7 separate regions of the Homo sapiens genome follow, and regions 1, 2, 4, 5, 6 and 7 are each linked to region 3. Evidence: promoter capture Hi-C in 16 types of primary human blood cells and fetal thymus (Javierre and others, 2016). All regions are on one chromosome and are shown on one strand. The core of a region is centred on a gene start or on the middle of the fragment in contact, and the rest is flanking DNA. Distances in the headings are between cores, read along the strand shown.

Region 1 (3,462 bases), core at 438-2,937, 270 kb before region 3:
TCTTTCTTTCTTTCTTTTTTTTTTTTTTAAGACACAGTTTCACTCTGTCACCCAGGTTAGAGTGCAGTGGTGCAATCTTGGCTTACTGCAACCTCTGCCTCCCGGGTTCAAGTGGTTCTCATGCCTCAGCTTCTCAAGTAACTGGGATTACCAAGCCTGGCTAATTTTTATGTTATTAGTAGAGACGGAGTTTCACCATGTTGGCCAGGCTGGTCTCGAACTCCTGACCTCAAATGATCCACCCACCTCGGCCTCCCAAAGCGCTGGGATTACAGGTGTGAGCCACCATGCCTGGCTGCAGTGAATAATTTTATTCCACATCTTCTTTGGCTATCCCTGCCCAGCCTTTTGAGAGATTCCTGCTGCTGCTAACAACAGAGGTTGTTCCCCAAGCATAGATTATAGACAGGAGAAATGTTGAGAGTTTTCTTCCTGAAATATCAGGTAGAAGGAATGTCAAGGGAGAAGATCCCTGTGCAGGAGCGGAACACGGTGACTTCAGGCAGACAATGATCCCCACATCAAGCCGTGCTGTATGGAAGAGGATTTTCAGGAAAACTTTGTGGTGCTCATTAGCTCAAATTGTCTGGGGATCACAGTAAGTCTTGAATATGCTACTCCCCAGAATAGCATGCAAGTTTCCCCTGAACCACCAATCCAGCAGCTTTTGGGTTGTTCTCAGGAGAAAGAGGCCAGACATTGTTTCTTTTCCGGTGCGATTTTCTTTTCCACTGAAACTGTGGCAGCTGCCACATGGCCTGTAAAAGGCGGCTGGTCCCCAAACTAGACTCTCCTTCCCGAACTCTGCTCCTCTCCCCTGCTTATAAGCATCAATCACACAGACAGTCCCCTAGACAACAACAGCCCCATTATGGGACATAGTAAGATTGCACATTCCACATTTATGCTGAAATAATCACTTACTGTTAATCACTAACATCATCAAGTGTTCTAGAGAAATGTTAACAGCCTAAAGGGCAAATATTTTTTTTTTCCTCTAACGTGTTAGCCATGATGGATTCATATGAGCCTGGGAAGAGGGGAAGGAATGATTTATTCCCAGGAGAAGAGATGCACCCTGTCACCTGCTTGATGAATAGAGACCACGCTTCATTAAGCTGTAGATAGATCAAAGCTGGAAGGCAAGGGGAAGCCAGGAAAGAGCAAATAGCAGCATCGTAGGAAAGTGATCTTTAAAAAGGATCAAACATTTCATCAAGTCCACATCCCGGATTGCAAACCAAAAGATCGTGGGGAACCTGGAAAAGGTTCAGAGATGAGGCTTGCAAAACAACCCCAGTGAGGAAAAACAAAGAGTAGGGAGGTTGTTGAGCATAGGAGAGCAGGCGGCTGTCCAACTGGATACATTGTCAAGATGATGAAGTTTTGTTCCAGAAGGTTGCTGGCCAATCTGTTTCCCTTCAGAACCCTAGGACAGCACCAGAGATTTCACTCGATAGGGAAAGTTATTTCTGCTGGGAAATAACGAGAATCATGGACGTGGCCGGGAGGGCCCGAGGATGCCACAGCTCTCCTCTAGAGGGTCTTCAGGGGACAGGAGGGGAGCTATGCTTGAAGATTCCAGGTGCTCTGACCAGGGAATCTTCCAAATCTCATTTCGCAACGGTGTCAAGTCAGCTCTTTTCACACCTCTGTCTCACCATCCAGTCAGCTCGAAGGGCAGCCAGGTGACATTTAGGGGGGTCCCAAGGTCATTCCACAAAACGTGAAAGCCTCACATTCTCTTTTCCTTTGTCCTGCCCAGTGAGATGTGCCCAGGATTGTGAGGACTATTTTGCTGAACGTCTGTACAAGTCGATGAAGGGTGCGGGGACCGATGAGGAGACGTTGATTCGCATAGTCGTGACCAGGGCCGAGGTAAGACACACTCCGACTCCAAAGAGGCGGCTGCAACTTCTCTTTTTTCCACCACTGATGTCATCAACAAATAGTTTCTATTAAGGGCCTATTTACAGAAAAAGTAAAACAGAGACGGCCCCTTGCCTTCCCAGAATTTGCAGAAGACATTGTGCTCTGCTTCAATCTGTTTCTTTTTATAAAAATACAATAATGATCGTTGCTTCTTTTTTTGTCCTCTGTGGCTCTGGAGAGCTAGTGGAGGGGCGCAGAGGCAACCATGTCGAGCAGTTCTCAGGGGCTGCAGCTATGCATGGCTCCATGTTAAGGAAGACAAAACAAACACACTTGAAAGAGGTCAACCAGCAGCAGGAACAAAAAGAGAATGATTTCTGAATTCCTGAGTGAGGCCTTTCCTTAACTGAACACACTGCAGAAGCAAGCACATCAGCATAAGGCAATGGTTCTCAATCTTTTTAAAAACTATTGCTGTTCTAAGGAACCTTTTTAGACACGTGTTTCTTCATTGCCATCCCTTCCCCACAAGAAATGTTAACACCAGAGATAATACTACAAATCTGTTTATATACCATGTGGATATCAGTGCTTTATACATAAAAAAATTAAGGGCTTTTTCACCCCCTAAAAACCAATTTGTGCTTGCTCTCGGAGAATGTGTATGTATAAGAAAGAAAAGGGAGAGGAAGAGCCAACGGCTTGGGAGCAGCCGTCAAGATCACAGCTGGTCGGGTGCAATGGCTCATGCCTGTAATCCCAGCACTTTGGGAGGCCGAGGTGGGTGGATCGCCTGAGGTCAGGAGTTCGAGACCGGCCTGGCCAACATGGTGAAACCCCGTCACTACTAAAAATACAAAAATTAGCTGGGCATGGTGGCACACACTTGTAGTCCCAGCTACTCAGGAGGCTGAGGCATGAGAATTGCTTGAACCCAGAAGGTGGAGGTTGCAGTGAGCCAAGATGGTGCCACTACACTCCAGTCTGAGTAACAGAGCGAGACTCGGTCTCAAAAAAAAAAAAAAAAAAAAGGTCACAGCTAACAGTTCGGGATATGGGGCCACAGACAGAAGGTGGTACAAAATAAAGGGGAAGTGGCATTTCATCGGCAGCAGGAGAAGCCTTGGGGAATGAAGTGGAACTAAGCACTTGAAAACCACAGACATCTTCCCTCAAAAAAAAAAAAAAAAAGTGGTTAAATGAAGGGGGAGGTGAAGGGGGAGGGACACCAACCCAAATTCTGATCCATGGCTTCTTAACAAATAATGCTTAACATCTGACACTGTTTTTAAATATAACTTTGCAACAAGATGGTTCTTGCTTTTTTATTTCTATTCCTGGAATTTCTCCTCCCCTCCTTTCTCCTCCTCCACAACTCATCTTTTTCTATTGAAGGCCATGTCTCTCTCTCTCCCCTCTTTCCCTTTGCCAGTCTCTCTGCTCTGCTCCTGCCATGCCTCTGCCTCTCTCCTCCATGGCTCCAAATCCCTCTCCCTCCTTTCTCTCCAGGTCTTCTGCCTTGTCCGTCCCTCTGTCTGTTAGCAACTCGACCTCCAGCCAAAGTCACTGAGAGATGAGAGATCTTGAGGG
Region 2 (3,749 bases), core at 24-2,523, 310 kb before region 3:
ATAACTATTATATTTATTAATATACTACTGCTATTACTACTACCACTACTGATACTAATACTACTAGATGGACTGAAATAGAAGGAGGATGCAAACTTGAAAATCAGATAGAAAGGGAGAAAATAATTCTCTTTCCAAATAATGGGGACTTGGATGGTTGTAGTAGGAATGAAAAGGAAGATAAAATGTTAAAGATAATTTTAAAGAAATAATAGACTAAAAATTAATTAATTAACTAAAAGAATTAATTTTTTTGGATCCAATGCATAAACTCTTCTACCAAGGGAAAGAATAACATTCATTGTTTTGATACTGATTGAGACAGAAATTTGCTCAAAGCAAATTTAGCTATTTTACCTTGTTTCCTTTTCAGCAAATCAGAACTTGTCCACATACTGTTGACTGCATCCTGCTACACAGCACATTTGATGCCATGAAGGCCCCGCTCAGCCCCCAATATTCTCACTTTTCAATTCCATCTGCCCACTTATCATTGACTCTTGAGGATTCCAGAGTACACTTGCTACCTTTTTTCCTGCAAGTAATGAATCCCATGTTCATACTCTCATTGAATTGGCAAAAGACGACCTTTGGCAATATAAGAAGGAAATGGATCATTCTTTTCTAATGAGAAACGTGCTTCATTTTTCATAACTCCTGAAAGCATGGTTCCTTTCACGGTTGAGAAATATCCATCATCTCCACACAACCACTTTATCCTCCAAGTTCTCTTTTGTTGATGCAATACAGTGGTAATTGGATATCTGGAAGTTTAGCACTCTTCAGAGGTCTCCAACTCCCCAAACAATCTGTGGACAACCTCAAAGCAGACAGTCATTTTCCCCAGGACACAAAATCTTGTTTCCACATAATGAATGTTATTCTGCCTCTACTAGAAACTCCAAGTTCTCCAGCCCAACACAGCACTCAAGGGCCCCTAAGAATGAGTCAACAGAGAGATGTCACTTGGGCACGTTGCCCTGCCGGTATAGGCTGGGATGTTCACAACAATCTTGATGCAGACAAAGAAGCAGGAGGTGACAACAGGTTTCTCACTTTGAACTGATCTCAGCTCACACCTTCCTCCTAGTTACCTTATCTCAGCACTCATCTTTCAGATTTGTCATCTGGGTTTCTTTGCAAAAAAATTAAAGAATGTAAGACATCATGGTCCATTTCTATTCTTCCCTTTTAAGTTACCACAGCAATTTGCCCTTGGTGACTGGAGGCCTTGCTTTAGTCAGCACCTGTGTGCCGTTTACCACCAGAGGCTTGGCCTTCTCCACACTTTTTAAAGAGACCCGTTGACAGAATCGTTACAACCATTCAGCCAGGGTTGTGGACCCTTGGCACATTCGTCCTTGGCACTGCTGACATTTGGGACCAGGTAATTATTTGTGTGTGTGTGGGCGGGGGGAGGGGGGCTGTCTGTTCTGTGCATTACTGAAGGATGTTTAGCAGAATCCTGGCCTCTATCACTAGATATTCCAGTAATACTCCCCTACTCGTGCCAACTGAAAATGTCTCCAGACATTGCCAATTGTCTCCTGGGAGACAAAAATCGCTCCTGGTTTATTGAGAACCACCGCTTAAATGGGAAAACAAGGCTCCAGGGCAGATGTCCTCAGAATGTCTTTATGTCACTGGATCTCCACCAGAAATCACCATTCCTGCCCTTCTGGCCCAGGCATGTCCCTACACTGATTTCTTCTCTTATAACAGAGAAAAGTCAGCTTCTCCTGAAGATTGACCCTTATCCTCCTGTTGATGACAGCAGCAGCCAAGAGGCAGCAGTTTTTCTCAAAACTGTTAGCCCATGAGTAACAACTTCTTCTTTTTTAAAAATTCTTTATTTCTGTAGGTTTTGGGGGAACAGGTGGTATTTGGTTACATGAGTAAGTTCTTCAGTGGTCATTTGTGAGATTTTGGTGCACCCATCACCCGAGCAGTATACACTGAACCCTATTTGTAGTTTTTTATTCCTTACCCTCTCCCACCCTTTCCCCCAAGTCCCAAAAATCCATTGTATCATTCTTATGCCTTTCCGTCCTCATAGCTTAGCTCCCACTTATGAGTGAGAACATATGATGTTTGGTTTTCTGTTCCTGAGTTACTTCACTTAGAATAGTATTCTCCGATCCCATCCAGGTTGCTGCAAATGCCATTAATTCATTCCTTTTTATGGATGAGTAGTAGTCTATTGTATATATATACCACAGCTTCTTTATCCACTCATTGATTGATGGGCATTTGGGTTGGTTCCACACTTTTACAATCGCAAATTGTGCTGCTATTAATATGCATGTGCAAGTATCTTTTTCATATAATGACTCCTTTTCCTCTAGGTAGATACCCAGTAGTGAGATTGCTGGATCAAATAGTAGTTCTTATACCAGAGTGAGAAGGGTTTCACTGCAGAAACCCTCAGTAAAAAGGCTGCTGGGCTGCTGGATTTCCTGCCTAGATGAGCAGTGCTCCCCTGGAAAGACACAGGCTGGAACCTTCAGGAGCTGATTGGCTCACCTCTCCTCTGTTTGGGTGTAGCCCCCAAAAGGGCTACCCCACTTGGACTCCCTATACCACAGCTCAGTGCATGGCAGGATGCCCACATTGTTTACACTCCTGAGGATACCATCAGTACCTTCAGGTACAATGGTGCCCACCAGTTTAAGGCACAGCATATTGAAGGGCCTTCAAGTCAGGTCTCCTAACTCCTACCCAGCCCTGCAGTCACCTTTGATAAGTAAATATCACATCAACACGTGTAACCCAGATGGCATAGCCTAAGGAAGCTTGTCTTTCTGGAAAATGACCTAACTATACCAATCTTCATTAAAAGGTGCTGAAATGCCAACATGGAAGCAATCCCAAATGTAATAGAAAGGTCATGTTTTAATCTAAAGAACTGAACTCATTTTTCAGAACATACAGTCAACATATGCAAGCAAATCATGTTGAGCTGTGATCCAAATGGATGTTTTTCTAGTTTTAGTTTTAGTTGTTAAATGATACAAATATTTCTGCCCCTTTAGAGTGATAGCCAAACACTTAGTCATCATGTAAGTCACTGTAATACTGCATCTTGGAAAGGAGGTATCAACAGCAATGAACAACTCTGTAACATTCCAGCACCCTACTAAGGTGGGCAGAGCTCAAGTTTCCTAACACACTTTCCCAACAGCTCTCTGATCAACCCCCGCAGATTAATAAACTTCTAATGTGGGAAGAGGTTCTAGGCATGAAGGAATTGGCTTGCTTTTAGTCGGTGTGAGATCCTGGAGAATCCTAATGAAAACAGCAATAACTACATGATGAAATACCAAATATTCGTATTCAAACTGTGCTTAAATATACCCAACAGGGTATACTGCCAAATATATTTTTTTCTGTTGGGTAGTTTTATGACTTAATGAAACCAATATGTCACTAATCACCCAAGATTCATGCTTCAGATGTGAATGGCCCCTCTATTTTGTTTCAAATTGCTCATCAATCTCTACTAACCATGTCTGTGGAAATGTCACCAGGATATTTTCTGGCTCTGAATTCATGAATGTTAAAAGTACAATAATTTGCATTCATACTAACTGGCTTCAAAGTGCAAATGAGTAACCGGTTAGAGGTAAAAGAACATTGTTCTGAGAGAGATAGGAGATGGATGTTTCCATAAGGTGACCCTGAGCAGGTGACTTAACAACCAGGCTTCAGTTTCTTTATTTGTAAATGATGGGATTGGATACATTCAATGT
Region 3 (3,505 bases), core at 835-3,334:
CAGCCTCCATAGCAAGGAATTATCATGCTCAAAATGTCACTCAAGCCAAGATGGAGAAACTCTGTGGTAGAGTGGTCATCTCTTACCATTCTTCTACAAGACTGCTCTAACTCCAATACTCCAGTTGTACCAGCCTCCTCACTGTTCCTATCACACTCACAGCACCATTCCTTCTCAGAGCCTTTGTACCTGCTGTTCTCCCTGCTTAAACAACCATCCTCCAATAGTTGCAAAGCTCCCACCCTCTTTTTTCAGATCTCTTTTCAAATATCACCTTATCAACAATGTCTTCTCAAAATATCCTAATAGAAGATAAGTCACCATCCTTTATCTTATTTTTCTCATAGTATTTAACATCACCCAAACATGGTTTACTTGTTTTTTTGGCTTTTTATTTTTTTTTTTTTTTTGAGATGGAGTCTTGCTCTGTTGCCCAGGCAGGAAGGGGCAGTGGCATCAGCTCACTGGAACCTCCACCTCCCAGGTTCAAGCGATTTTCCTGCCTCAGCTTCCCGAGTAGCTGGGATTACAGGTGCACGCCACCACACCTGGCTAATTTTTGTATTTTTAGTAGAGGCAGGGTTTCTGCATGTCGGCCAGGCTGGTCTCAGACTCCTGGCCTCAAGAGATCCGCCCACCTCGGCCTCCCAAAGTGCTGGAATTACAGGCGTGAGCCATCGCACCGGGCCTTATCTGCTTTTCTCTCAAAATGAAAGAACCAAGGGATCCATGAGGGAATTTGTCGATTTTGTTCACTGCTATATCCCCAGTGCCCAGAAGTATGCCACATACTCCAAGTGCCTAATAAACATTTATTGAATGAATGAATAAAACAATGACTGGACATTAGGGAGGAGAACTAACGGGATTTAGAAGAGAGGCAGGACAGAAAAATAGTGCAGTAGTTAAGATGCATGAACTTCAGAATCACGAAGAGGTTCCAGTTTCAGCACCACCACTTGCTAGATGTGTGATTTGGGGGCACAGAACAGCCTCTCTGTGGCTCAGTCTTTTTATTAGTAAAATGAGGATAACGATAATAAAAGAAGGTACCTCCTGGACATCGATGGAAGCACCTGCCACTGAGCCTGACATGCAATCAGGGCCGAACAAATGTTAAGCTCTTGGTGGCATTGGTTTAGTGACCAGCAGAAGGGGGAGGAGTAGGTTTAGATAGCACTGAGGTTTCCTGTACAAGGACTAGAAGCTGGGGAAGAAGCCATTACTCAGGAAAGAGTAGGTATGAGGACTAAGGCAAGGGCGGTACTTCAGCTGCAGAGGTGGCCTAGGACAGGGGTGCACTGCGTGGATTCCGGGGCCAGACCCTGACTGTAAATCCCCACTCCTTCATTCACAAGCTACGTGGCCCTGCGCAAATTACTTGCAGCCCTCTGTGCTTCAGTGCTCTCATCTTTCAACTGGGGATAACAATACCTACCTCTTACGGTTATTGTGATGCTCAGTGATTTAGTTTACCTAAACCACCCAGAACAACGCGTGGCATATAGCAAGTGCTGTATGAAAAACTCTCCGTGCCTTCATTCTCTTACAAAATTAAAATGACCTTCACCTCAGTCTGAAACCCCACAGGCTTCAGCAGAGTAACCCCCAAAGATTTTCAGAGCTCCACCCTTCCTGGCCCCGAAGCAGAGATCTGCTGAGCAAATCCAACCGACAAGCGCCAGGCACAGGTAATGCACTATCGACCCTATGATTCCGGACGAATTCCCAACCCCATCCAATAGCCCACGCTCTACTCAAGAGACGAGAGCTGCCATTCCCGCTCCCTCCTCCCGCAAAACTGTAGAACCCGCCGGTAGAGGCCGGGAGCGCCCCCGAGGAGGGGCCGGGAAGAGGCGGGGCCCGGTTGCGACTCGCCGCCCGGGAGCCTGGGAGACCCAGAGGCTGCGCCCGCGCCCCCTCACCAGTAGCAGCTGCTGTAGACGCAGGCGTCCCGCGGGGGGCTGGCCGGCTGGTAGTGGACAGCAGCGGGGCCATTACCTTCCATGGCCGGCTAGCTGGGCCAGGGCCCGGGCCGGAGGAAGACCGACTGGACCAGACGTAGGAAAGGGCGGGCTTGTAGTGGCCCGCGTGGGTTCCCGGCGTGGGGTGGGCGGAGCCCGGGGGGAGAGGGCCGGGGCAGTTTCCGGGTGGTGGGGCCAGTAGCGCGGTGGGCGGGGCCAGGGCGGGACTAGCAGCACGAGTTCCCGGCGCGGGAAGCCCGGGACGAAGTAGGCGGAGCTCGGGGCAAGCGGCGCCAGTTCCTGGGAGGGTGGAGCCCAAGCGAAGTGGGCGGGTCCGGGGTGGGGTGAGTGGCGCGAACTCCCGGTGGGCGGAGCCCGGGACGAGGAGGACAGCGCGCTTCCGGGTAGGCGGAGCCCGGCTGGTGGGTGGGGCCCGGGATGGGGCGGGACTGGAGGACCGGGCTCTGGTGGGCGGAGTCAGGGGCGGGGCCCCGGTGAGCTTTGGGAGAAGAGGGGTCTCTGGCGGCGGCTTGGGGAGGAGCTAGGTTTGGGCTTGGAGTTGGGCCCTGAATGGCGCTTTGCTGTGAATCTCCGCGGGGAGGCTCTTCCAACCAGGGGCTGAGCTTCTGCGCTGTGGAGAAGCCAGGTGAGACACTGAAATAACAGAGGTTTGGGTGTGAAAATCCACGCTTCTGCACTCAGCCTGGAGTCTGCGGGAGCCCAGAGAAGAGGGGAGTGGAGGTTAATTCCAATATGACCGCATCGAGGACGCTTTCCGAAAGGGATAGCACCCCAAATCTCACTCTATTGTAACTTAATCTTTTAAATTGGAAGGCCTGTAGCTATTGGCTCGAAAAGATATATTAATTCCCTGATACAGTAAATTTGAAAAAAAAAAGTTTAAAGAGTCCATATGGTATCCTTTTTGTGTTAATCATATATTTTGTTCAATTACTGGCAGTCTGGAAGAAAAGACACCATATTGTTAAAATAGTGTTTAGGGCCGGGTGCGGTGGCTCACGCCTGTAATCCCAGCACTTTGGGAGACCGAGGCGGGTGGATCACGAGGTCAGGGGTTCGAGACGAGCCTGGCCAACATGGTGAAACTCCGTCTCTACTAAAAATACAAAAATTAGTTGGGCGTGGAGGCGCGCGCCTGTAATCCCAGATACTCGGGAGGCTGAGGCAAGAGAATCGCCTGAACCCGGGAGGCGGAGGTTGCAGTGAGCCGAGATGGTGCCATTGCACTCCAGCCTGGGCAACAGGGTGAGACTCCGTCTCAAAAAAAAAAAATAGTGTTTATCTCTGGTGAATGAATGATATTAATATCAGGGACTTTCAGTTTCAAGGTCTTTACACTTTACAGTCTTCTGAATTGTTTATATTTGCAATGAGCATAGCTAGCTAATCAGGGTACTTCCCATTATAAAAACTGAGATGTTTACATTGATTTTAGCCATCCACAGTTGGATTCTCCAATCTCTTCAGTCTCAAAGCTGATAAATCCTAAAGACTTGGAGCACAGTTCCTGTGTCAATTAC
Region 4 (3,634 bases), core at 278-2,777, 340 kb before region 3:
TAAGCACACCTGCTATTAACAGATAATGACATGGTACTGTGAGAGAATACACAAGGTAACATACCAGAGCAAATTGGTCACACCATTGCATCATGCTGATGATTGTTAATGGACTCTTCACTAAGACACTTCAGACTCCCTAAACCAGTAGTTCTCAACTGGGGGCAGTTTTGTCCCCAGGGGACATTTGGCTATGTCCAGAGACATTTTTGGTTGTTACAACTGGAGAAGGTGCTACTAGCATCTAATGGATAGGGGCCAGGGATGCTGTGCTACAGTGTATACAACAGTCCCCCACAATCAAGAGCATCTGGCCCAAAGTGTCAATAGAGTGAAGGATGAGAACCCTGCTCTAGATGACAAACCACTTGGCATGAAAATGCACTGTAAAAGCATTCACTTTATGCTTCTGACCCCTAATCTCAATTAGTGCTAAGATATTAGGTACAATAATTTTACAGGAAGCCATGTCCAATCTATTCATATCGTTGTCAGGTAGAAGGTAGTGGCCTGAATTCACCTCCCCATTTGACTGTGTACTGAGTGACTTCTGGTTAACTGTTTTGTGCCTCAGGTTCCTTATCTGTAAAATGGGGATAGTAATAGTAACTGTCTCATAAGGTTGGTATGCTGTTAAAAAAAAAAACCACAAGTCATGTCAAGTGCTTAGAAGAGAGTCTGGCCCACAACACTAAAAAGTATAAACTTTTGTTATCACTGTTATCATCAATATTATTACTATTACTTGGCACAAAAAGGAATTTAGAGATGTGCATTTACCTAGACCAGTTTCCAAAATCTCAGTCATTTGAAGAATAATACGATTTTTTGAGTATCATCTAAACTATCATTTACTTAAGACTCTTCTTTAAATTGTCACACTTTGTACAAATCTTTTGTGTCATTCACAGGTTTGATATCTTAATTGTATTTTCCTAAAATACATGAAATAATGCAGTGCTATCAAAGTAAAGGTTTTTGTATGTTCCAACTAAAATCATCTCACATGTGCTCCATTGGCAGAGACGCAGCAATTACTGAAAATCAGTGGTATGCACAGCCTCAGATTTAGAGAGGAACTTAGATATCCAACCCCTTTCTATGGGATTTTTTGCCATTCATTTGGCTGAACCCACCTCCCTATAAATGCCAAATATTCTCACTCCCAGCTACCTTTGCACCTAACACCTGAGCATGTGACCTCAGCTGCATTGATCAGATATGCTCATGCTTGAGTCTGAATCCGAAGCTGGTGCTGAAAGGAAGCAGGGACTGTGTGAATCTTCTCAGTCCCAATAAGATGAGCTCCTGGGGCTGCAGGGACATCCAGCCCTGGGCAGCTGAGGTGGCAGGGATTTTCTCACTTGTCCAATTTTGGTGTATGGTTTTTGGTGTTGTTCCTGACTCTGAAGTTCCAGACCTGGTTCTGTAGCCTTCTCAGATGTTTGTTGAGAGATCCTATATTGTTTAGTAAATCTTTTTTCAAAAATCCTTAATTCAGCCAGTGTCAGCTCCTATCGTTTGCAAATAAAACCCTGGCAGATACACTCTTACTTTATAGATGAGGAAACTGAGACTCACAAAAGTTGTGTTCTGCACAACGCAGCCATGGCTAGGTCAGGATTAGAACCCAGGCCAGTGCCTTTTTAGCATACTGCATTTCTAGCTCCTTTATGCTGGGTCAAACCTTGACAAAAAGTTGAGTCTGAAAAAAAAAGTTGGCTCTTCAAAAAAATTTTTTCAATTAACACATAATAATTGTACATATTTATAGGGTACAATGTGATGTTTCAATACATGTATACATTGTGTAATGATCAACTCAGAGCAATTAGCATATCCATCACCTCAAACATTTGTCATTTCTTTGTGATGAGAATATTCAAAATCCTCTTCTAGCTATTTTGAAATATGCATCATTGTTTGCTATAATCACCCTACTGTGCAATAGAACACCAGAACTTATTCCTCCTATCTAGGTGGACCAACCTCTCCCATCTCCCTCTCCCCTCTTCAGCCTCAGATAACCACTGTTCTACTCTTTACTTCTACAGGATGAACTTCTTTAGATTCATATGTGGATATGACTGAGGTCATCCAGTATTTGTCCTTCTGTTCATGGCTTATTTCACTTAACATAATGTCCTCTAGGTCCATTCATGTTATTGAAAATGACAGGATCTCATTCTTTTCTATAGCTGAATAGGGTTCCATTGTGTATATTTTTAAAATTTATTTATCAGTTGATATGGTTTGGCCGTGTCCCCACCCAAATCTCAAATTGTAGCTCCTATAATTCCCATGTGTTGTGGGAGAGACCTGGTAGGAGGTCATTCAATCACGAGGGCAGGTCTTTTCGATGCTGTTCCTGTGATACTGAATAAGTCTCACGAGATCAGATGGTTTTATAAAGAGGGGTTCCCCTGCACAAGCTCTCTCTTGCCTGCCACCATGTAAGATGTGCCTTTCACCTTCTGCCATGATTGTGAGGCCTACCCAGCCACATGGAACTGTGAGTCCATTAAACCTCTTTTTCTTTATAAATTACCCAGTCCTGGGTATGTCTTTATCAGCAGCATGAGAACAGACTAATACATCCACTGATGGACACTTAGGTTGATTTTATATCTTGGCTATTATGAATAGTGCTGTAATATGCATGGGAGTGCAGTTATCTCTTTGTCATACTGGTTTTATTTCCTTTGGATATGTATCTACTAGTGGGATTGTTGGGTTATATGGTAGCTCTATTTTTAACTTTTTGATGAAACTCCATGCTGTTTTCCATAGTAGTTGTACTAATTGACATTCCCACCAATAGTGTATAAGACTTCTCCTTTCTCCACATCTTTGCCAGCATTTATTGTTTTGTCTATTTGGTAATAGCTATTCTGACTGGGGTGAGGTTATATCTCATTGTGATTTTGACTTGCATTTCCCTGATGATGAATTATGTTGAGCAATTTTTCATATACCTGTTGGCCATTTGCATATCTTCCTTTGAGATATGTCTATTCAGATCTTTTGCCCATTTTTAAATCTGATTGTTTTTGTTTTTGTTTTTGTTTTGCTATTGAGTTGAGCTTGTTATGTATTCTAGATATTAACCATTCTGTAGGTTGTCTCTTCACTGTGTTGATTATTTCCTTTGCTGTGCAGAAGCTTCTTAGCTTGATGTAATCTCCTACATCTATTTTTGCTTTTGTTCCCTGTGCTTTTGAGGTCTTATCCAAAAAACTCTTGCCCAGATTGATGTCATAAAGCATTTTCCCTGTGTTTTCTTCTAGTACTTTATTAGTTTCTGGTCTTACATTTAGGTCTTTAATCCATCTGAAGTTGATTTTTTCAACAGTGAGAGATAGTAATCTAGTTTCATTCTCCTGCATATGGCTATTCAGTTTTCCCAGCACTGTTTATTAAAGAGACAGTCCTTTCCCCATGTGTGCGCTTGGCAATGTGTGTGTTGGCTATAAAAATGGGGATTTATTTCTGTTTAATTTTAATTTTAAATTTTTGTTGATAATAATTGAACCTCTTTATAAGGTACATGTGATGTTTTGATACATACATTTATTGTGTCATGATTAAATCAGGGTAATAAGGGATATCCATTGCCTCAAACATTTATCACTTC
Region 5 (3,451 bases), core at 875-3,374, 380 kb before region 3:
TCTTTGACATTTCTAGGCTATGAGATTTGTCTGCAAGTTTTTTCAAGTTGTCACAAATTTCCAAAAAAATGTTCCAAAACGTTTACTCATAAAAATTATCCCATAAGTGGACCTGTGCAATTCATAGCCACGTTGTTCACTTGTCAACTGTATAACGAAAGCCAAAGTGTCAGGAGAAGCTATGTGCTTCTCTCCTCCAGTTTCCGATCTCTACAAAGAGAATCATAGCCAAGTCCTCATTTTAGTATAAGGGCAAGAGCTCCTCATTTGGAAATGTGTACCCTAGATTTCTGGTCCGTAGAGCATGAACTCACTCAACATACAACAGATTTTAAGCATTCTTATTCTTAATCCTTTTGAACAATACGAAATCCTATTGCTCTCTAAAAAGAGATATTTAACGTTAAAAGAAACTTCAGAAGAGCAAGGTAGCTATATCCTCCTTCAAGCAAGAATACATCTAAAAATATACATATATACATATAATGGCCTCCTGAAAATGCCTAGAAGCAATGAGCACAACTAACACCAGTATCTTGGTCTCTAATAGCAATCCCCAGTAAAAGACATTAGGCTCCTAGGACAAATGGCTGATTCCAGGACTGAGGCAGAATAAATACACAATAAGATGCTATTGCTTGGCCAGAAAGTAAAGAATTGCTTAGCGGAGAAACCTGGAGGCATGTCATAAGGAGAAAGGAGACAGGAGCAAGCTTAAAGGAAATCCTCATGGCAAAATCTGAGAAAACTGGGGCACGAAAATAATTGAGAGACAATAATGACTAATCGCAGACTACTGAAAAGATAAGAATTCATAAATTCATACAGAGAATACGAGAGAATGCCTGGTCACAACTGCTAAATATGGCAGAACTGCTCAAGTGGGGGAAAAATTACCAATTTCCAACCATCAAAGTACAGAATGGTTCAGGCAAGAACCACCAATGGATTCTAAATCTAGGAGGAAACACTGATGAGGAGTGGGATATCTGCATGGTCTCAAAGTATCTCCCCACCAATTGCTTATCAGTTGTGAGAGAAAAAAAATAGTTGACTATACAGTGGAAAAATCAGACAATGCATTAACTGGGTGATCAAAATTAACATCACCAATGAAGGGTAGATGGAAAGCATGGGGTGTGAGGAAGTAGGATGACAGGGTGAGGTATAGGATAGCAGATCACAGAATGTTTAACCATAACGTCAGCATATTTTCTGGGAGGGGTCCTAAAGGAAGGGCTACATCCTGGCTTAGGTTGAGGGTGAGTCAAAGTTCATGGGGCTGGAAGAAGGAGAGAAGCTTAAACAAGCTTTGGCTAACAAGCATTTTGTTCTGATTGATAATTCAGAACAGGCAGTTCAACTCACTGCTTATGAGGCAAAGAAAGGGAATTTGGTGGATCTGTTTCTGACCTTGTCATAGGTGAACAGAAGGGAGTGGGGAATTCACCTGTGAATCTTATCTAAGTCATACGGGGAAAAAGTGGGTCCTTGCACTAAGCCCCTTCCCAAAACACAAAAGAGTGAAGGGACGTCTTAACCCTCAGGCAAAATTCAACATTATCAATGTCAAGTATAGATAATATTTAATGTATACTACAACAGGGAAAGTAGGAAGTCTAAAGAGTTCATGGTGGTTAGAACACGTTTCTAATAGCTTGACAACTGTGATTGCTTTCCTACAAATGTGGTTTAATTCCTAAACATTTCCACAGTACTAGAATGCCAAATTATAAACAGTGGTTTTTATGTCTGACTTATACTAATCACAGTTAAACAATGTCCTTTTAAAGACAAAGATACCTGGGGGAAAAAAATCATGCTTAGAAAACGAGAAAAAAACAGACCACGCATGACTTTTATTTATAAACAGTACGCCGTGCTATTTAAAACCAAGGGATTAAGGACTCCTAGGACTAAGACACTAGTTCCATGTATAACAGAGTTTGCTTGTATAATATCACAATGCTTTTGCTTTATAGTAGATAACAAGTACTACATGATATACTCAAAGTATAAATTATTAGTGACATAAAAAGAAAATTCTTTTTCCTCAAACAAGACGCTTAAAACACCAATACTAGAGGATTTCTTTTTTTTCTTCTGAGACGGAGTCTCAGTCTGTCACCCAGGCTGGAGTGCAGTGGTGTCATTTCAGCTCACTGCAACCTCAGCCTCCCAGGTTCAAGCAATTCTCCTGCCTCAGCCTCCCGAGCAGCTAAGATTACAGGTGCCTGCCACCACACTTGGCTAATTTTTATATCTTTAGTAAACACGAGTTTTCACCATGTTGGCCATGCTGGTGTTGAACTCCTGACCTCAAGTGAACCGCCTGCCTCGAGCTCCCAAAGTGCTGGGAATACAGGCATGAGCCACCACACCCGGCAGAGAATTTCTTTTCTAAAAAAGAGTAAGGTTCAGTTACCAAGCCCAGTAACTGCAGAAAGCAACATTTCTCAACAGGCTGAGCATGAAGCCTTAATGCCCTAAGATATCCTCTACATAGAACGAATGACCTTTTTCATGCATTGAGAACGGTACTAATGTGCACCATCATTAGAAAAACTGAGAAATAGTCACGCCAATCATTTCCATGTTCTGCAATTCAGATGAGGAGCTAAGCTAAGAAATGCTGGTAGCAAAAATGAAATTTCATAAGTAATTGCAGGTTTGGTCTTAAGGGGAGGCATTCATCAAATTTAACTTTGGAGACCCAGCAATTATTCTAAGCAATTAAATCTCCAACTAGGGTCAGGAACAGTCTAACATTAAACCCACCTTAAAGGTTAGGATTGCACAGGACTATTTTCATAGAGAATAGGTTTAGATTTACCATTTAACTTACTTCATGGTACACTGACTATTCATGGGGAAAAAATTTAGCCCAGCCCAGACTACTAAGCAACAAATGTTTATGGGTAAATGAATACAAAGCTTAGCGTTCAAGAGAAGATAATATAGGGACAGGGCAATGGAAAAAAAAAAATCAACAGACACAGATTCAAGTCTTCCATTCCTGGCTCTTCCATTTACTAATAATATGGGCTTTGATGACTAAAAAACAAGCAGAAGATTTAGCTAATATAAACTCCAATTTCTTTATCTATAATAGGAGTTACACTTCACTGGTCACTAGTACTCTCTAATGTTCTCACATTCTGTGATAGGCAGGAAAGGACAATGTATTTCAAGACAGCTTTAACAGAGTATTTCAAATCATCTAATACATTATCTCCATAAATCACTAAAAAGTCCCAGAAATTCCAGGAGTTTTATATCCAAAGACATCCTCAAGACTGTGCCACTCACCACTGCTTTATCACATGATTTAGTATTTATTAACCAAAAATGGTTATCCATCAACAAATGCCTACCAGTAAGTGCTTAGGACTCTCGGCATTTGGCAATTTAATATTCTCAGTTTTAACTATTTATGAATGATCTCAAAAGC
Region 6 (3,807 bases), core at 651-3,150, 360 kb before region 3:
CCATCAACATGCACTACCAATGAAGACTACAACCACTTAGTGGCCTTTGATCCCACAAGTCCCAATCTGTAGAAGAGCTAAACTTGGTATCCAGCTTTTTCTGCCCCAATCTGTTTCTCCAATAACAAACCCACTGCTTCCTGTGGGGATAAGGCCCGTTTTCTACCGAGGAACTATACCCAATGATAGAATAACAGAAACCAGAATGCAGCAACCATGTGGATGTAACTGAAATGAAAGCTGATAAGTGAAACAAAAACTCCACCTATTTTAGCTCCCAAATTTGTGGACTACACTAGAAAAATAAAGAGACAGCAGTAACTATTCTACTTCCTGATTAGCTGCCACCTTCATTATGCTACCCTGGTTCTTCACTATGCTACCTGGGCTATCGGGCCTCTCGCTTTCCTCCAGTATTTCCTCCAAAAGAGGAACACGGGATGCATGGGACTGCAGAAGCACCCATGAAGGAGGGGCTTCTGGAGATAACGAAGGGAGCAAACAGCAAAGCACACATCGTATGTAGGGCTAACCTCATGTTACCACACGTTCCCAACTCCTTTAGTTCTAGGCTCCTCTCTGCTCTTCAAGCGGCTAGTGAGCCCCAAACAGAAGCACTCAAACATAATTAAGGAGCAAATGAATACTAAATAAATACTGCCAATCTTTAATAAAGCTCACTTGAAAACAGTATATAACTAGTATTAAAGTTATCCAATACAAGCCTAAAAGCTGTCTTTGGAAAAAGGCTAACAACTAAAAGTTAATAATTATAGAAAGAGATTAACAGCCAAGACTACTAACATATTTCTCTTTTCTGGCACCTGTATTATATAATGTTGGGTCTATGTCATCATTCATTCTTTAGACAGTTAGTGAATAGTTAAATACATTAATTTTCTTTTCTTTTCTTTTTTTTCTTTTGAGACAGTCTCACTGTGTCACCCAGGCTGGAGTGCAGTGGCGCTATCTCGGCTCACTGCAACCTCCACCTCCCAGGTTCAAGCGATTCTCCCCCCTCAGCCTCCTGAGTAGCTAGGATTACAGGTGCACACCACCACGGCTGGCTAATTTTTGTACTTTTAGTAGAGACGGGGTTTCACCATGTTGGCCAGGATGGTCTTGATCTCCTGACCTCATGATCCACCCACCTTGGCCTCCCAAAGTGCTGGGATTACAGGCGTGAACCACTGCTCCCAGCCTAAATACATTAATTTTCTCAGAACATAATGTTCAATTCTGTCACCCACATTTTCAACCTTAATCACGTTTTAAAAAGCAATAAATTTTACACAGACTCTGCCAACATAAATGACTGATCAGTACTACAACAGCACAAAGGGTCAATAGCACCTTCAAGACCAGAAGAGAAATAGACAGCTTCCCAATGTAAAAACATCAATAAGGATAAGTACTTGTACAGTGTGGCTCAAACAGTTAACAAGCCACCAATAGTCCTTTTTACACTATAAGTTCTGAAAGAGTGTCCACCGCAGACGACAGCTGAAGAGCTGGTGAACATCTGCAAAAAGTCCCAGACATGTAGTCCCATCCCATTCCCACTGGCTCACCCACACTGTAAACTCACCTCCATAATCCCAGTATAATATGAAAATGGTGTTATCCTCAAGCCTTTCACCATAATATCCGATAGATGGTAAGGGTACAGCATGAGATGATCTCGGCTGTACTTTAGCAGTTCCTCATAGTATCTGCGTTCATCTTTCTTGACATGTTTAACTGCACAAAAGAGGGAAATTCTCCAGTTTTTTTCAGGTTTCTTATAGTTATATATTAACTATGAACACTTTACAAACCAACAGTAATTTAAAAGAAAAGTATGTAAATTACAAGAGAACAAATAAAATATTCTAAGTTGGAACAAAGAAATATATCACATGAAATAGATTTTAGAGTATAGAAGTAAAATGAATAATAGGACAGATTAGTAGAGAATAATTCTTGCCAAATGAGAAAACAAGCATGGAACTACCAGCATGCCCCCCAAAAAGGTACAAAACAGAGCTTTATTGAATTGTATTCTACTACCTTACAAGAGAGCCAAACTGAATGCTCGTTTTCAATGAAGTCAAGTCTATTTTTAAAAATTATTTGCTGCTTTTTTAGTTTTTAAATGTAAAAAGCCCTCTGACTTTCATGGAAAATGTTCATGAAGAAAAACAATGTCAGAAATATTATGCTTAAAATAAGAGTAACAAACAGGAGTGAAAGACTACCAGGGCAACAGAATAGACTAACCAAAATAATCTGATAAATAAACAAATTTTTTTTTAGAAAGAAGAAAAAAAAATCATGGAATGAACTATGTTTAAAATGTGTCCCAATTATTATAAAGTTTTTCATATTATTTGGAAAATTTATGGAGACAACCCAAAGTCAAAAATTACTAAGAACTAATATACTTTTTCTTTTATGGCATATTTTCTTACCTCAGGCAAAAAGAGGACATTTGAATTAAGATTATTTTATAGATAAAATGAGTCCATAAACAGTACTCTAAAAATAATTTTTATCAGAATTAGAATGAAAAATCTACTTGCTAATACAAATTGTTGTTAGGTGGAATGGATCAGTGTAGAGTTTCTTAAAGTCTGTACATGGAATAATCTCAGTACTATGAAATATGTATTGAAAAGAAAGATTTACGAATGTGAAAGAGTAGTGGTCAGTTCCACCCCAATATAAACATGGCTCTACTTACCTAAGTTATTTCTATATCGTAACTGATTGCGGATACTGTACAGGACAACCTGCTTTTCATATTCTCTCTGTGAATTTCCAAGACTCTAGGAGAAATTTCAAAAAGATTTTAAACAACTTCCAAACTGAACAATAGTACTATTTTTTCCCATAACACACTTTAAAACCACGACCCCCATTTTTATCCTGGCATCTCTAATTTGCAGAATTAAATAAAAAATATTTTCTTAAATGTTATTATACTAACTTTCCTGCTACAGTATTCAGAGCAAAAATTCTATGTATTTTCAGTCTGCCTTTCTAAAAGAGTTTACTAAAATTATCCGAAGTATTTAATATCAAATAAAAACCGGTAGGTGAGTGTAACTTCACTTTGGTTAACAAAGAACTAAGTTCTGCTTATAAAGATTTCCTTCCTGACTGCTATATTAAGTGGTTGGATAGATGGTTTCCTGCCCCTACATTTATTTAAATTTAAGAATGGCAACTAAGGACAGATACATCCCTCTTTGATAATTGTAGCTGAGGGTTATAATTATTAAAGATTAGGATTTCTGGAAAATTTACATTTAAATGTACGTAAGATTGTTTCTTAAAAATGCAATCTCCTGTGGCCTCATTAGAAGGCATTTAGACAATTTTAGAATTCGGAGCCATTTTTAATAAGCTAAAGTCTTTCTAGTATGCACTTAGTGTTTTGTTGCAGTGTTCCTGAAAGCAAACAACGTTTGCCTGATTATAGTTAACATTATATTCACTGGGAGACCATAAACTTAATTTAATATATGACTGCTATCCTCCTCCTAATTTCTAGGTATGGTCTTTCCAACACACTATAAAGTGAAATTAGACATCTTAGGAAAGTAATGACAGAAAGATCAGAGGATTTAGTTCATCGTATTTCTTACTCATAGGTAAGCCAAAACCAAAGACAGGTCCCTACATCTTTCACTTAAGGCAATCTTCACAATAAGACAGATGAAACTCACATCTAAGTAAACTGACCCATAACTGGACCCATTGGTAGGTAATATTTTAAGAAAAATAGAACATGATGTGTCCCATTTTAACTGTACAATTATGTGC
Region 7 (3,804 bases), core at 840-3,339, 290 kb before region 3:
TCGGGGTGAAGGCTAAAAACACTTAGGACCTGTTAGGCAGTGACAGAAGGAATGAAGAAGAGGAACAGGTAAAAGAGTTGTCTCATAGGTGAGACAGGCAGGACTTGGTAGTATTTGAGAGTAAAAAAGACTGATGGGCCCTCAAAGGTGACTTTGGATTTTCTCTAATCCGTGTGATGCCATGCACTGAGACAAAGGAACAGGATGAGGAGTGGATTTAAGGATAGACAAAATGAGTTTGGTTTAAGCTACAATGGAAGTTGAAATGCCTTGGGAGATCCGTGGGAAGTTGACTACAGGCAGCTGGAAATAAGATCTGAACTCAGAGGAGAGATTAGGGCTAGAGGCGCTGATCCTGGAGTCATCAGTCAAAGGGCGAAAGTCGCCTGGGAAAGGAGTGACTCCAATAGAGAGGAGAACTGAAAATCGAGTTTAAAAGGCCAGTGGAAGAATACAGGCCAATCAAGAACCCTGAGAGGGAGGTGATGGAGAGGAGAAAGGAAAGACTGGGAAAGGAGGTACAAAGCCATCTAGGAAGGTGTTTCACGCAAAGAATTGTCAACCGCAGGCCGGGTGCGGTGGCTCATGCCTGTCATCCTAGCACTTTAAGAGGCTGAGGCAGGTGGATCACCTGAGGCCAGGAGTTTGAGACCAGCCTGACCAACATGGTGAAACCCCATCTCTACTAAAAATACAAAAATTAGTTGGGCATGGTGGTGGGTGCCTGTAATCCCAGCTACTCGGGAGGCTGAGGCAGGAGAATTGTTTGAACCCAGGAGGTGGAGGTTGCAGTGATCATGCCACTGCGCTCTAGCCTGGGTGACATAGCCAGACCCTGTCTCAAAAAAAAAAAATAATTCCCGACTGCAGAATTCAAATGCTGCAGAACAGTCAGGTACATGCAGGAACCGAGAAGAGGTGCTGCATTGTGCCTCAGCTTCCTCTTCTGTAAAGAAGAGCTTGGACTAGATAGTCTCTAACATTTCCTCCAGCTCCAGAGATTGCTGACTGCTGTGCCTTGATCCCACCGAGCTCGATCACTGGGGTGAGCAGTTCATGGAGGGTGGTCCCTGTGCACACCCTGCATGGATGTGAGGCAGTGCCAGGCGCGTGGTCATTTACATCCCCTGGTGTCCCGGGTTTCCCACGTGCGTGCTTAGGACCACCGCGGACTGGACCCACACTTGGATTCTCGCATTTCATTCTCACAATAGCCTTGTATACTATTACCCTCATCTTAGAGGTGGGAAAACTGAGACTTGGCAAGAAAAATCACTTGCCCAATGTCATGCAGTCGGTACAGGGTGGAGCTGTGATTTGAGTCCAACCTGAATAAATCTAATGTGGGGTTTGATGGTAAAACCGTCTTTCTTATTCGCACACTGGAAATACCTGTGTCATCTTTCCGATCCTGGTTCCTGGTTCAAACAAGGACATTCTCCCCTTCTTTCTTATTCACTATAGTTTTCAGTACTGATCAAATTGCTGCCATGAGCTTGTATTACTTTGAGCATCAGGGGTAAAAAAGCTTCTAAAAATAACATAATCTAAAGGTAATAGGAGTTAAAAGGGGCAACCTCCCTTCATGGTTTCAATCAAGACTTCTCTCCTGAGATTAACAAATGTATGGGTGGGGTTAATATTGTAACAGTTTCAGCCTATATCCTAATCTTGTTCATGCAATTGTAAGCACCCAGAGGCCAAGGAACAGGCCATCTTTTTCCTTTTTGTTTTTTAAAACATTTTAATTGAGATATAATTCATGCACCATATAATTCACCCATTTAAAGTGTTCAATTCAACAGTTTTTATTATACTCACAGATGCATGCAACCACCACCACAGTCAATTTTAGAACATTTTCATCACTTCAAAAAGCAGCCCTGGACTCCAGCTACCATCCCCCTAGGCAGCCCACCCACCCCCAGCCACTAGTATACTTCCAGCCTCTGTATATTCTCCTGTTCCGGACTTTCATACGAATGGAATTATATAACATGTGATCTGCTATGATTGACTTCTTTCACTTAGCATAATGTTCTCAAGGTTCATCCATGTTATAACATCTATCAGTAATTTATTCCTTTTTCTGGCCAAATAACATTCCATTGTATGGATACCCCATATTTTGTTTATTCATCTTCAGGTGATGAACACTGGGGCTGCTTCCACGTTTGAGCTATTATGAGTAATGCTGCTATGAACATTCACATGCAATTGTTGGGTGGACATATGTTTTCATTTCCCTAGGAATAAAATTAAGGAACCAGCCATACTCGTTCCTCTTTCCACCACAATGCCTAGCACTGTGTGCCATGTGCTGTGAGGCCTCAATGGCTATTTGTCTAAGTGAATGAAAAGAATACAGTTTTCAGCACAAGGCATCAAAGCTAAGGGTCCGTTGGGTTCCATAGACACCTCCAACCACCTTTAAGCTGTGAGTCCTGGCTTCCTCACCCTGGACTAAAATAAACTTCCACCTTGTTTCTTATTCACTGTGGCTTTGTTTGTTTCTCCTGTATTTTAGGGACCAATGAAGCAGCCATCATTGAAATCTTATCGGGCAGGACATCAGATGAGAGGCAACAAATCAAGCAAAAGTACAAGGCAACGTACGGCAAGGTGATTCCAGGGGTGGTCAGCAAGCTTGCACCCAGCCATGGCCTCAGCCGTCTCGGCTTCCTCATGTCCCCAGGCCACGCAGAATATCTTTATAGCTTTATTGAGTCAGCCCAGGAGGAAAAGTGAAATAACCACTTAAAAGCATTAATGGAGTTCAGAAAAACTGAAATTGCTTTGTTAACTCAATAGCCTGTAAAATCAATACTCTTAAACTCATTTCTTAAATTGACTTCATTTTTCTATGAAGACCCTAGTCTTTTTTTCACTTAATTGGGACTAACTGTACATATGTAGCTAGATCAGTAATTTGAAAATCAGTTTCCACAAGTGGGTCTTTATACAGGAATTTTTCATAAGCGATTGTTACAGAAAACTACCAAAAAAACTCTCCATTTTATTAAGCTATCAACACCTATTTTTCTTTACATTTTCTTTCTTTTCTTTCATTCTTTTTATTGTTGAAAATAATTTTATAGAGAGAAGTCTTCAAGTATGCATTAGGCTTTCTTATTTCTTTATTAATATGTAATGAACACAACTTAAACTTTTCTTAATGTCATTAGAATTATCATTATGCAAAATGAATATCAATTATTATGCTGTATTCTCATTTATATTTTTCAAACTTTTACCATTTCAATCACTGTAGGTATAAATAGATATATAGAAAGATGAAGATGGGTTTTCCTATTTATTTGATACTGAGCAGGTAACAATTGCTTCAGGCCTTGGTCTTTTCATGGATAGAAAGAAGATGATAACTTAGCTCCCTTCTCAGGTTGCTGGGAGAATCAGTCAGGATAATGCCAGCATGTACCAATACAGGAAAAAGCTATGATAGCTATGATTGTTTCCATTTTACAAAATCACACACCTAAAAAAAAAAAAGAGAACCAGGACTCACATCCAAGTCTCACATCCAAGTCTCCTGACTTCAAGAACAGTATCCATTCCTGGAGGACCCAGTGCCATAAATAGAGCTATTTGCTTGTACACTAAATGGCCCAAATGGCTGTGCTTTTGTGCTTTTTCTGCTTCTCTCCTTACTATTAGGTGCGTCAATGTAATTTTTGATGAAAATAAGTGCATCTTCAGTTCAACTGCATTTAATTGAATGCATGAAGCTGAATGTGTGTGTGGTTTTTTTTGTTGTTGTTGTTTTGTTTTGTTTTGAGACGGAGT

Evidence for each region. Contacts are between HindIII fragments. The CHiCAGO score rates a contact against its expected background, and 5 or more counts as called.
Region 1: a fragment that was not itself captured here is called in contact with the fragment with the promoter of NTAQ1 in region 3 in 6 of 17 cell types (naive CD4 T cells, total CD4 T cells, non-activated CD4 T cells and 3 more); the score reaches 7.0 in naive CD4 T cells.
Region 2: a contact is called between a fragment that was not itself captured here and the fragment with the promoter of NTAQ1 in region 3, in 1 of 17 cell types (M1 macrophages). The highest score is 5.6, in M1 macrophages.
Region 4: a fragment that was not itself captured here is called in contact with the fragment with the promoter of NTAQ1 in region 3 in 7 of 17 cell types (naive CD8 T cells, M1 macrophages, naive CD4 T cells and 4 more); the score reaches 6.5 in naive CD8 T cells.
Region 5: a fragment that was not itself captured here is called in contact with the fragment with the promoter of NTAQ1 in region 3 in 1 of 17 cell types (M2 macrophages); the score reaches 5.0 in M2 macrophages.
Region 6: a fragment that was not itself captured here is called in contact with the fragment with the promoter of NTAQ1 in region 3 in 1 of 17 cell types (M2 macrophages); the score reaches 6.9 in M2 macrophages.
Region 7: a fragment that was not itself captured here is called in contact with the fragment with the promoter of NTAQ1 in region 3 in 4 of 17 cell types (naive CD4 T cells, total CD8 T cells, erythroblasts and 1 more); the score reaches 6.8 in naive CD4 T cells.

Annotation. Positions count from the first base shown.
Region 1 is chr8:123,683,026-123,686,487 of GRCh38, reverse strand. It overlaps ANXA13 (annexin A13), which reads left to right. Exons shown (of 11, transcript NM_004306.4): 10 at 1,766-1,878. Among named protein-coding and RNA genes, the nearest start is that of KLHL38, 31 kb to the right of the region's middle. The HindIII fragment of the contact is 5,117 bases long and covers 1-3,462 here.
Region 2 is chr8:123,725,307-123,729,055 of GRCh38, reverse strand. All of the region lies in intron 1 of ANXA13 (annexin A13), which reads left to right. The region is part of intron 1 of LOC105375739 (a long non-coding RNA gene); the gene reads right to left. Among named protein-coding and RNA genes, the nearest start is that of ANXA13, 10 kb to the left of the region's middle. The HindIII fragment of the contact is 3,043 bases long and covers 1-2,794 here.
Region 3 is chr8:123,415,353-123,418,857 of GRCh38, reverse strand. NTAQ1 (N-terminal glutamine amidase 1) reads right to left here and starts at 2,084. Exons shown (of 6, transcript NM_018024.3): 1 at 1,926-2,084. The coding sequence starts at 2,008. It also overlaps a transcript of ATAD2 not described here. RefSeq lists silencers at 1,346-1,395, 1,716-1,915, 2,026-2,505 and an enhancer at 1,318-1,912. The HindIII fragment of the contact is 17,257 bases long and covers 1-3,505 here.
Region 4 is chr8:123,755,891-123,759,524 of GRCh38, reverse strand. All of the region lies in intron 1 of LOC105375739 (a long non-coding RNA gene), which reads right to left. Among named protein-coding and RNA genes, the nearest start is that of FAM91A1, 11 kb to the left of the region's middle. The HindIII fragment of the contact is 3,275 bases long and covers 1-3,164 here.
Region 5 is chr8:123,790,829-123,794,279 of GRCh38, reverse strand. The region is part of intron 15 of FAM91A1 (family with sequence similarity 91 member A1); the gene reads right to left. Among named protein-coding and RNA genes, the nearest start is that of FAM91A1, 24 kb to the right of the region's middle. The HindIII fragment of the contact is 1,624 bases long and covers 1,313-2,936 here.
Region 6 is chr8:123,773,080-123,776,886 of GRCh38, reverse strand. FAM91A1 (family with sequence similarity 91 member A1) reads right to left here. Exons shown (of 24, transcript NM_144963.4): 2 at 2,723-2,807; 3 at 1,589-1,740. Among named protein-coding and RNA genes, the nearest start is that of FAM91A1, 6.5 kb to the right of the region's middle. The HindIII fragment of the contact is 5,525 bases long and covers 1-3,807 here.
Region 7 is chr8:123,701,460-123,705,263 of GRCh38, reverse strand. It overlaps ANXA13 (annexin A13), which reads left to right. Exons shown (of 11, transcript NM_004306.4): 3 at 2,528-2,622. Among named protein-coding and RNA genes, the nearest start is that of ANXA13, 34 kb to the left of the region's middle. The HindIII fragment of the contact is 1,118 bases long and covers 1,531-2,648 here.